2 separate regions of the Homo sapiens genome follow, and region 2 is linked to region 1. The links are contacts of gene promoters, found by promoter capture Hi-C in human tissues and cell types (Jung and others, 2019). All regions are on one chromosome and are shown on one strand. The core of a region is centred on a gene start or on the middle of the fragment in contact, and the rest is flanking DNA. Distances in the headings are between cores, read along the strand shown. Region 1 holds the start of PAX7 (paired box 7). Region 2 has its middle 41 kb from the start of PAX7.

Region 1 (5,521 bases), core at 1,503-4,002:
ATGGAGGAGACCATAAGATAGACTGAGGGGGAAAGAGAGACAGGAAAAATGTTTGTGTGTGAGAGAGAGACAGAGAGAAAGAGGGTGAAAGAGGGTGAGGAGAGACAGGGATAGAAAGAGGGGGTCAAGGGCTAAAGGAAAACTTTCTGGAACAAGTCTGGCCCAGCCCACACACTCAGAAGCCCTCACACCCTCCCAGCAGCAACTGGAGGTCTTAGGAGTTGATTAAGCCTGCATGGGGGTGACTTTTTCTAGACAAGGGGGTAAGCAAAGGGAAACAAGAGGAGGGGACGCGGCTCTCCCCCATCCCCAGCCACAGTTCCCAGGTGAACCCCCCTTTCCCCTGCTGGATGTGAAATCGCCATTTCACCCCACCACACTCCTTAATTGTTGCAAAAATCATTTGTGAAATTGGTCTCCAACAGGCAAGAACGGCCACGCTCATTCCAATAGACAACCCCACCTCAACCCTTCCCTCTGCAAGGGCCCATGGAATCCCGGAGCTGCAGAAACCCTGGGGGCCTGTGTCGCTACTGCACCCACTACTGTGAGTCTTTTGCAGGGAGGGTGAGGGACCACACTGTGGGCAAGGTGGCCCCAGTGCAGGACTCCTGAGGTTCTGAGGGTCCCTGGCAGCAGAAGTGTCCAGCTATGCACTCGCCCCACTCAGCTCAAGATGCTACATGAGCACTGGCCAGAAGAGAGGGAGCCTCCCACCCTTGGCACACCCTGGAGGTCTTTTCTCACTTGAGAATTGACCTAAACACACACTCACACATTCCTGACGCGCGCTTAGAGCCATACCAAGGCAACCTGGAGGTGACCTCAAAGCAGAAATACAGACATGGACCCTCACTTAGAAACACACATTTACTCAAACTGACCCCAAACAGACCTACACACAAAACCCACCTGCACCTTGACACACAGACCCGGGCACAGGCCTATATTCACACGCAAGCACACTGGCCCATTCCACAAATACAGGGAAGAAGTGCCTTGAAACCTTCCAGGCAGAGGACAGCTAGTGACGAATGAATGGATGAATATGCAATATACCTAATATATATGTGTGTGTGTTATACGTGTGTATGCATAAGTGTATATGATACAAATACATGTATATATACACACAGAGAATATATATCCACCTATGGAGGTCAAAGCAGGCCAGGTCCCCAGCAAGGCTGGTGATGTAAGGGGGTTGCTGTCTTCCCTGGGCACACATGCTATGGCTTAAAGCTTGATCTCCCAATCTCTCCCGGGGGAGGGCCCCATAACTTGGGCCAGGCAAAGTACCCCGGTGTCCCCCTTCCAATTCGAAAGCTACTTGGCATCTGTCTTCTCAGTTAGAGAGAGTATGAGCTCAACAAGTTTTTCATCAGGGCCCCCATTCCCAGAAGGCCCCCCCAAAATCTGATGAGCCCCTTGTGCTAGGAGAGTGGGGAGAGGAGGGAGATCTGTCACATGCTGCAAGGGGCAAAGGTCACAGGTGAGGCGAAGGGGAGGGATGGGGACACCCTGGGGCCAGCCAGCGGTGAGCGCCCCAGGCTAAGACAAGGCTGACCCCACTGCCGAGAGAGGGCGGGCAGGGGGTGAGATTGAGGGCTGGGTTCATTTTATTGTATTTTGCCTCCAGCGTGGGGCCAGAGACGCTCTTTCCCCCGGGAGACAAAAGGCCTGCAGTTGTGGCGTCCTGCCCCGCTGGGAGGGCGTTTCGCCCCCAGGACTCGGTGTCCCGAGGTTGAGGCTACTGGTCACCCTGGCTTCAGAAAGCGAAGAATTCAGGAACCTCTGATCACCCCACCCTGACTCCTGATCATTCAGTTGGGGCGTCCCCTCAAACCCACCAGCAAGGAGCTCAGAGTTGGTGAGTTCAGAGCTGTATCAAGTCTTGACGGGCTCCCTCCCTCCCATTTCCCACCTCTTTGGGCCCCCAGATCCTCACACCAGCACCAACTCCCTGTAAACCCAACTACCTGCTGGAAAGGAGTTATAGGCCCGGCCTGGGGGCCTGAGGAGGACGGCGGCGGCTGGAGACGTCTGCACGGGGCGGAACTGGAAGGGGAGGAAGAAACCTGTGCCTAGCACTTGGCAGACCCACTTTGCCAAGCCTCGGAACCAGATACGGTTACTGGGGGCTTCTCAGAGCGGCAGGAAGGTAGAGTAAGAACCGGACACCGGGGCTCTGACATTACACAGAAAAGGTCAGAATTCCTCCCTTCAAGTCACCCTAGGCCGGTTCCCGGGGAGCCTCACTGGAGGAATTTCAGAGGGTGTAAGACGAGGGAGAAGATGAGAAATAGGGCGGACTCTGGCCCTCGGAGGCCAGAGAAAAGGCGAGACTCCAGAGAGGCGCCGGACCCGAGGCAGACATTCCCATACAGCCGGGACTCCGAGAGCAGCCGTGGGCGACCTGGGGGCCGGGGACTCGGCGGATCCGGCCCATTCATCAAAGGAAGGCACTGGGACAAAGTTGGCCCCCTCCCCTTCTCCCCCAGCCCCCAACTCGCCGGGATCGGCTCCCTCTCTTTTCACGGCGGTTCAAATTCTCCCCCAAAACGAGGTCGAGCCGGGGATTAGAAAAGAGGGAAAAAAATATTCGTTGGCGATTTCTTTTCGTTATTGGTCCTCCGCTCCCTTGCGCCCTGGCCCCCTTCCCTCCTCATGAATAAAAGAAAAGTCCGAACCTATCAGATCGCGCTCACTGCCTCCTCCTCCTCCTCCTCCTCCTCCTCCTCGTACTTCGGTGAACACTTTTGCACAACTTACCCAGCTGATCACTCGCGCCCCCTCGCTTTTCCATTTCTCTTTCCCCAACCCCGTCACCCCCTGTCTCCTCCGTCCAGCCCTGAAACCCGAGGAGGCTCCTTCTTCCGTCTGTCCCCGGGTCTCCTAGGGGACGGGGCTGTGAAAGCTGGTGTGGAGGGAGAAGCGAGTGTGGTCCGGAGAAAGAAGGCGTGGAGAAGAGGGAGGGAGCGAGAGCGAGAGAATAAATATATAAATAAATACGAGAACGAAATCCACTCCGCAGTCTCCGGGCTCGGAAACTTTGGCCCCGAGCGCCAGAGCGCCAGAGCGCGAGAGCGCGGCGCTCGCCACTCTGAGGCTGGCGGCCTCGATTCCGGCCGCGTTCCCCCGGCCCCCCTCCGCCGCGGGGCCTGGTCTCCGGGTTCTGCCAGGCGCATCAGCCCGCACAACTTCTGGCCGAGGCCAGCCGGCAGAGGCGGACTTGGGGTTGGAGTGTTTGTTTGTTTGAACTTCCTCGTCGTCGCCACCTTCCCTCCCCCCAACCTCCACCCCACCTCACCCCCCTCCCCAGCTTCTGGACGCGTTTGACTGCAGCCAGGGGTGGGGGGTGGGGGTAGGGAGTGTGTGTGGAGGGGAGGGAGAAGAGGTTAAAAAAAAGAAGACGAAGAAGACGGAAAGAAAGAGATCGCAGCAGGGGTGAAGGGAGCGGACGGGAAGCGATTTTTGCCGACTTTGGATTCGTCCCCGGCGTGCGCAAGAATGGCGGCCCTTCCCGGCACGGTACCGAGAATGATGCGGCCGGCTCCGGGGCAGAACTACCCCCGCACGGGATTCCCTTTGGAAGGTAAGAACGCCCAGGCTGGCCTCGCCGCGACTCCGCCGCCCGGAACTCGGGGTCCTTGGAGAGGCTGCGGTCTCCAGGGGACGGTGGCGGCGCCGGCGATAGCAGAGGGATCCCGTTCTCTTCTGGGTCCCAGTCCGGGCGCGGAACCCAGGGAGTTTCTGGGACCCATACTTGTCCGCTTCTGCGTGGGTTTCACTGCCCGGCGGCCTTCGTTTCGCAGGTCGCTAGCTGCCGGTCTTTACCCGCAGGGCTGAAATTCTGGTAGATTTGGACTCCTAGTAAATATCAGGTCCTGGTGAATTTCAGCTCTTTCCACTATTTCCAGACACTTCTTCCCTGACAGTTTCTCGGCTCTCCTGGCTCGCTGGCTGCCAGCTTTCTACTCTTGTTTTGAATTATTTTTTCCACCCCCGGGATTGGTCTTCCAGTCCTTTATTTCGAACCACCTACCATGGGTGATACTTTATATGCCTCAACTACCACGGCTATCCATTTCTTCCGAAGCCACAGTCAAACACTCCTGCTTTTCCGCCTGGAAACAAACTAATTGGAAATAATAATTAGTAATGATTTTCCCCCTAAAACTTTTTACTCGGGCTTCCGCACTCTGGAAATCTCCCGGGAGAGAACCTCTAAACGGCGAGGTTTAGAGAACCTCTAAACGGCGAGAGGGGCACGGCAATGTCCAAACGAGAAGAAAGAGCTGATTTTGTAAAGCGTCCTTCCTAAACATCCAGCGCCCGCCCGGGGAGACCCGATAGGACGGGCGGCGGCGAACCGGGTCCTGGCTGGAGAAAAGGCTGGGAGCGCACAGCGGAGAGACCCGCTCCTGTGTTTTTGTTCTGTTTTCTTTTTAAACTAATGGAAGGCCTCAACCTGTCACTGAGGGATCATTTGGCTTCTGAGGGTAGGTAGCCTAGGGTGTCACAGAGAAGTCATTAGAAATATGTGCGACTTTTTTTTTTTAAATTACTCTTCCTGTGATCGTTTGAGTCCCTGGCGCGTGAGGAAGGGGAGAGGAGGCAGGGAGGGGGTGGGTGGGCTGGCAGCCTGCGATCCGGGAGGAGCTCCCTTGGGCAGCGAGACGGCGCCGGGTCCCTGAATTAGACAGAGGCGAAGAGAGCGGCTCCGTGATCAAGTGCGCGCCGGCAGCCACGCAGGCGGGAGAGCGCGCAAACCCGGGGATTTGCAGTGGCACTCTCCTGTAGCGAATGCAAGTAAAACAGGCGGCTGAGGACGCGCGGCGGATTAGAACAATATTTGCCCAACATGACGCAGAATACTGAGGAGAGCCGAGTGCCGGTCGCTAAAGAGGCTCTTGAATATAAAGTTGGGCGCTCGAGAGCTCTTGAGCGCTAATGGCATATCCCGCCACGGAGACCGAGTGACTCCGACTTTGCGACGCACGATTTCTGATTAAATCCGAGAGTGGCTTCAGACACCGACTTTTACAAAGAGAGGTGGGGGGACCGGGAGAGCGAGGGAGGGGGCGGTAGGAACGGCCCAGCAGCGGAGCCTCTTCTCGCCTCCTCCCTTTCAATTACAGTCAGCTCCCTCCACTCCCGCGGCTGTGAAATCGTTCTAATCTTCCAGATCTCCGCAGCCGCTGAGTCCCCAAATTGGGGGGATCGAGGCCGGATTAGTGCGCTGGGTGTCCCCCCAATCTTCTGTGAGGAAATTGTGTAGACTTTGCATTAAGGCAACCAGGCGTTCTCCCCTCCCCAGCACACACCAGTGATGCCTGTCTTCCCGGTTCCCAAAGTCACCCCCACCCGGGGGGACTGTGTCCCATCTGCCTACCAGCCTCGCAGAGCCTGCAGGCACAGTTCATGGATTTGTGAGGCCAAGTCGACTATTTAATTTAGGAGCTTTGGGGCAGTAGTGTCCTAAAATTGTCCCAAAACGAAATTAGGACTTCGAGGGTGG
Region 2 (5,521 bases), core at 881-3,380, 41 kb before region 1:
AGAATGGGGATGAGGGCAGGGAAAGGAGGTGGAGATGCCCAAGAAATGAAGGAATGAGAGAGGACATCAGAAGCTGGATCTCTGGTTAATTCATGAAGCCTCTTTGGAATGGATGAGGATTTCCAGCTGGTGGGAAGGAGGCTAACTGAGACAGAAAAAAACCACTCTCAAGGCTTAGCGTTTTAAATGTGTCACAGAGGGTGTGTTCAGGAACAGAGACAAGTATATAAGGCATAACGTACATCCTTGGGCAGTTTTATTTTAAATTTCATTTTGTTGCATTTTAATTTTTGAATAGCTAATGTATTCACGTGCTTCAAAAACCAAAAGACATCAAAATATATGAAGTAAAAATCCTCCTTCCACCTCTGTCCCTCATCTGCCCAGTTCTCAGCATTGACCCCACAGGTGACCGCTGTTCATGCTTTCTTCTGTATCTTCCCAGCATTTTTTTCTGCATCTCCATGCAAATAAGAATATAGAGTCTCGGTTGTCCCTCTATTGATACAAAATGTAAAACACTGAACACACTGTCTCTCTCCTTCTAATTTTTTCTCTTAACCATGGTATTCTGTGGTCTAGACAGACCATAATTGAATTAACTAGCCCCTTATTGCAGGGCATGGGCTGTTTTTAGCCATTTGCTAAACATTGTTGTGATGAACAGCCTTATATACAGTTGTCATTTCACACGTGCAAGTATCTCTATAGGATAAATTCCCACAGGGGAGTCGCTCGGTCAGAGACAACATGCGTTTGAAACTTTGATTGATAGTGCCAAGGTGCCCTTAGACATTGTCCCCGCGGTGACATAGGAGAATGTCTACTTCTCCCTCACACTCACCAACAGAAGGCGTCATTTTACATTTGGATGATTGGCAGTTTGATCAGGGAACGTGACATGTGTCTGTAGCTTTAATGGGCATTGATCTTACTATGGGTGAGCTGAACTTCTTTTCCTATCTTCAAGCACTTTTGGATTTTCTTTTCTCTAAATTATCTCTTCACAGCTTTTGCCCATTTTTATTTTGGGTCGTTTGACTTTCTCATCAATTTCCCTAGGTTCTTCAGGAGGGAGATTAACCCTTTACCTCTGATATGAGTTACAAACATTTTGTCCCAGATTGTCATTTTTTTTTTGACTTTGCTCATGATGGGATTTTTTTTTTTAACAAGCAGATTTTTTTTTATTTTTTTATCTATTTATTTTTTATTTTTTTATTTTTGAGACGAAGTCTAGCTCTGTCGCCCAGGCTGGAGTGCAGTGGCGCGCCTCAGCTCACTGCAACCTCCGCTTCCTGGGTTCAAGCAATTCTCCTGCTTCAGCCTCCCTAGTAGCTGGGACTACAGGCCTGCACCACCATGCCCAGCCACTTTTGTATTTTTAGTAGAGACAGGGTTTCGCCATGTTGGCCAGGCTGGTCTCGAACTCCTGACCTCAGGTGATCTGCCTGCCTCAGGCTCCCAAAGTGCTGGGATTACAGGTGTGAGCCACTGCGCCCAGCCAATTTTTATAGAAGTAAATTGATCAGCCAACCATGGTGGTGCGTACCTGTAGTCCCAGCTACTTGGAAGGCTGAGGTGGGAGGATCGCTTGAGGCCAGGAGTTCAAGACCAGCCTGGGCAACCTAGGACTGCCCCATCTCTACAATAAATGAATAAATGAATAAATAAAAATTAGCCAGGCATGGTGGCACATGCCTGTAGTCCCAGCTACAAGGGAGGCTGAGGCGGGAGGATCGCTTGAGGCCAGGAGTTCAAGACCAATCTTGGCAGCATAATGAAGCCGTGTCTTTAAAGAAAAATAAAAAATAAGTAAATTATCCATTTTTAATAGCTTCTAGATTTCTGAGTCATAATTAGAAAGTCCCTCATTTAAAAGTCATAAAGAAACTCTCTGATGTTTCCTTCTAAAATGTTTAAGCTTCATTTTCACACTTAAATTTTTGATTCCTTCAACATTTATTTTAAATATAAAGTAGAAATCCAGATTTTTTTTCCAGGTGTCTTTCCAGTTGTCCAACACCGTTTATTAAATAATTCAGCTTTTCTTTGCTGGTTTGGTATGGTAACCTTACTAACTGTCCATTTAATGTAGGCCTATTTCTGAGTTTTCTTTTATTTTATTGTCTGCTTGACTATTCACGGGTCAAAACCACATTGTTTTAATGATTGAGGCTTCATAATATGGGTTGGTCCTTCCCCCGAGCACCCTCTTTTTCCAGAATTTTCCTGTCTATGCCTACTGGTTAATTTTTCATACGAACTTTAGGATAAGCATGCCTCATTCAACAAAAACTGTGGATATTTTTTATCAGAATCAAAGTATATTTATCAATTAGCTGAGAGAGAATTAAAATGTCACGGTGTTGAGCCCCGCCGCTCCCCCCCTCCGCCACAATACGATGTATCTTTCCACTTGTTCACATTCTTCTGCCTTTTAGTAATTTTGTTAATTAAAATGCTTATTGAAATAGAACATGTATACAGGAAAGTCACAAATCATAAAGGAACAGCACTGTGAATTTTCACAAAGCAAGCACCCCCGTGAAATAGCTACTCAGATTGAGAACCGGAACGTGACCAGCTCCCCAGAGCCCTCCTCCTTCTCCTCCTGGTGATCATACCTCTCCTCCCAAAAGGAAACACCTTTCCCATTTCTATTAGGTTGGCGCAAAAGTAATCGCGGTTTTTGCCATTAAAAGTAATTTGCCATTAAAAGTAATGTCATTACTTTTAATGGCAAAAACCGCGATTACTTTTGCATCAAACTAATATCCTGTATTGTCTGTTTTTATTTATTTGTTTGTTTTTATATAACTTTAAGTTTTAGGGTACATGTGCACAACCTGCAGGTTTGTTACATATGTATACATGTGCCATGTTGGTGTGCTGCACCCATTAACTCGTCATTTACATTAGGTATATCTCCTAATGCTATCCCTCCCCCCTCCCCCCTCCCCCCACCCCACGACAGGCCCGGGTGTGTGATGTTCCCCTTCCTGTGTCCAAGTGTTCTCATTGTTCAATTCCCACCTATGAGTGAGAACATGCAGTGCTTGGTTTTTTGTCCTTGCGATAGTTTGCTGAGAATGATGGTTTCCAGCTTCATCCATGTCCCTACAAAGGACATGAACTCATCCTTTCTTATGGCTGCATAGTATTCCATGGTGTATATATCCCACATTTTCTTAATCCAGTCTATCGTTGATGGACATTTGGGTTGGTTTCAAGTCTTTGCTATGGTGAATAGTGCTGCAATAAACATACGTGTGCATGTGTCTTTATAGCAGCATGATTTATAATCCTCTGGGTATATACCCAGTAATGGGATGGCTGGGTCAAATGGTATTTCTAGTTCTAGATCCTTGAGGAATCTCCACACTGTCTTCCACAATGGTTGAACTAGTTTACAGTCCCACCAACAGTGAAAAAGTGTTCCTATTTCTCCACATCCTCTCCAGCATCTGTTGTTTCCTGACTTTTTAATGATCGCCATTCTAACTAGTGTGAGATGGCATCTCATTGTGGTTTTGATTTGCATTTCTCTGATGGCCAGTGATGATGAGCATTTTTTCACGTTGTAATGTAAATCAAAACATATGTAAAGACAAATAATGAAAAAAAATGGGAAAAAAAGTTTAAAAAAATATGTGCTCTTTTTTTACAATTTTTTTTTTTGAAACAGTGTCTTGCTCTGTCACCCAGGCTGGAGGGCAGCAGCACCATCACAGCTCACTGCAGCCTCAACCTCCCAGGCTCAGCCTACCAAGTAGCTGGGACTGCCTCATCCTCCCACCTCAGCCTACCAAGTAGCTGCAGCTACAGGTGTGCACCACCACACCCAGCTAATTCGTTTTTTCTTCTTCTTCTTCTTCTTCTTCTTCTTCTCCTTCTCCTTCTCCTTCTCCTTCTCCTTCTTCTTCTTTTTTGAGACAGAGTCTCGCTTTGTTGCCCAGGCTGGAGTGCAGTGGTGAGATCTCGGCTCACCGCAACCTCTGCCTCCAGGGTTCAGGTGATTCTCCTGTCTCAGCCTCCCGAGTAGCTGGGATTACAGGCGCATGCCCAGCTAATTTTTTTGTATTTTTAGTAAAGACGGGATTTCACCGTGTTAGCCAGGATGGTCTAGATCTCCTGACCTCGTGATCCGCCCACCTCGGCCTCCCAAAGTGCTGGGATTACAGGCATGAGCCACCGCGCCCAGCCATACCCAGCTAATTTTTGTATTTTTTGCAGAGACGAGGTTTCACCATGTTGCCCAGGCTGGTCTCAAATTTCTGGGCTCAAGCAATCCACCTGCCTCACCCAGCCTCCCAAAGTGCTGGGATTACAGGCATGAGCCACTGTACTGGACCCACATGTGCTCTTTGGTGTCTGACTTCTTTCACTCAACACTGTGTAAGATCCATCCTTGCTGTGATGCACAGCAGTACTTTGTCCATCTTAATCACTGTAGAGTTTTTCATTGTCTGACTATATTACAATGTGTTCAAGCATTCTACTGCTGATGGATATTTGGGCTATTAGGAATACTGTTATGGAATTAATAATATTACTAATAATTAGTAATAGGAATTAGGTTGGGCATGGCGGCTCACGTCTATAATCCCAACACTATGGGAGGCCGAAGTGGGAGGATCACTTGAGGCAAGGAGTTTGAGACTAGCTTGGGCAACATAGTGAGACCCCATCTCTACAAAGAAGTTTAAAAATTAGCAGGGTGTGGTGGTGCACACCTATAGTCCCAGCTACTTAAAACGCTGAGGTAGGAGGATAGCTTGAACCTAGAAGTTGGAGGCTGCAGTGAGCTATGATTGCACCATTATACCACAGGCCTGGGCAACAGAGATACACCCTGTCTCTTAAAAAAATTAATAATAATAAACAGTAGCATTAGGAATAGAACACTCTTGCCTATGTCTTTTGGTACAAATATGTGCTCATTTCTGCTGAGCCCTCCTAGGAGTACCATGGCTGGGCCATACAGTGTGTGTATGTGAACTCTGGCAGACACTGACACATCATTTTCTAAAGCACTGGTACTCATTTCCACTCCACCAGTTGTCTGCTCAAATTCATTCTTCCTTTCTCATCAGGAACATCGTAAGACTACATTTCCCAGGTTCCCTTGCAGTTAGATAAGGTCACATGATGCTGAGTTCTCACCAACAGATTATGAATGGAAGTCTATGTGTCCCTTTTATACTCCACAGTGGGTGCACCTCCTTCACACTCCCTTCCCCCTTCCCTCCCTCTAGAGCCCACAGTGACCCAGTATCAACCATGCAAACAATGGCAATGCCCTAGGAGAAGACAGAGAAACATGTTGGAAAGGATATGACTTTCTGAAGACCCTTTGGAACAGAGCTGCCCCACCAACTAAGCAGCTCACCTCACACTGTGAGGAGTTAGACCTCTTTGTCCTCCAAGCCAATGTATGTTGGAGTCTTTTTGTTCCAAGAGTTAGATCTTTCATCCTCAATAATACAGGAATTGGTATCAGAAATGGGGTGTCAATCTG

The links. The method cuts DNA at HindIII sites, captures the fragments that hold promoters and counts their contacts. A contact is called where the count stands out against the background at its distance.
Region 2: a contact is called between a fragment that was not itself captured here and the fragment with the promoter of PAX7 in region 1, in 3 of the 25 tissues and cell types used here (H1 embryonic stem cells, liver and thymus).

The regions. Positions count from the first base shown.
Region 1 is chr1:18,628,094-18,633,614 of GRCh38, forward strand. PAX7 (paired box 7) reads left to right here and starts at 2,753. Exons shown (of 9, transcript NM_001135254.2): 1 at 2,753-3,595. The coding sequence starts at 3,511. RefSeq lists promoters at 2,437-3,222, 2,626-3,536, 3,260-3,536 and enhancers at 4,076-5,521, 4,084-5,521, 5,094-5,521. The HindIII fragment of the contact is 8,003 bases long and covers 1-5,521 here.
Region 2 is chr1:18,587,431-18,592,951 of GRCh38, forward strand. No RefSeq gene overlaps it. Among named protein-coding and RNA genes, the nearest start is that of PAX7, 41 kb to the right of the region's middle. The HindIII fragment of the contact is 9,422 bases long and covers 1-5,521 here.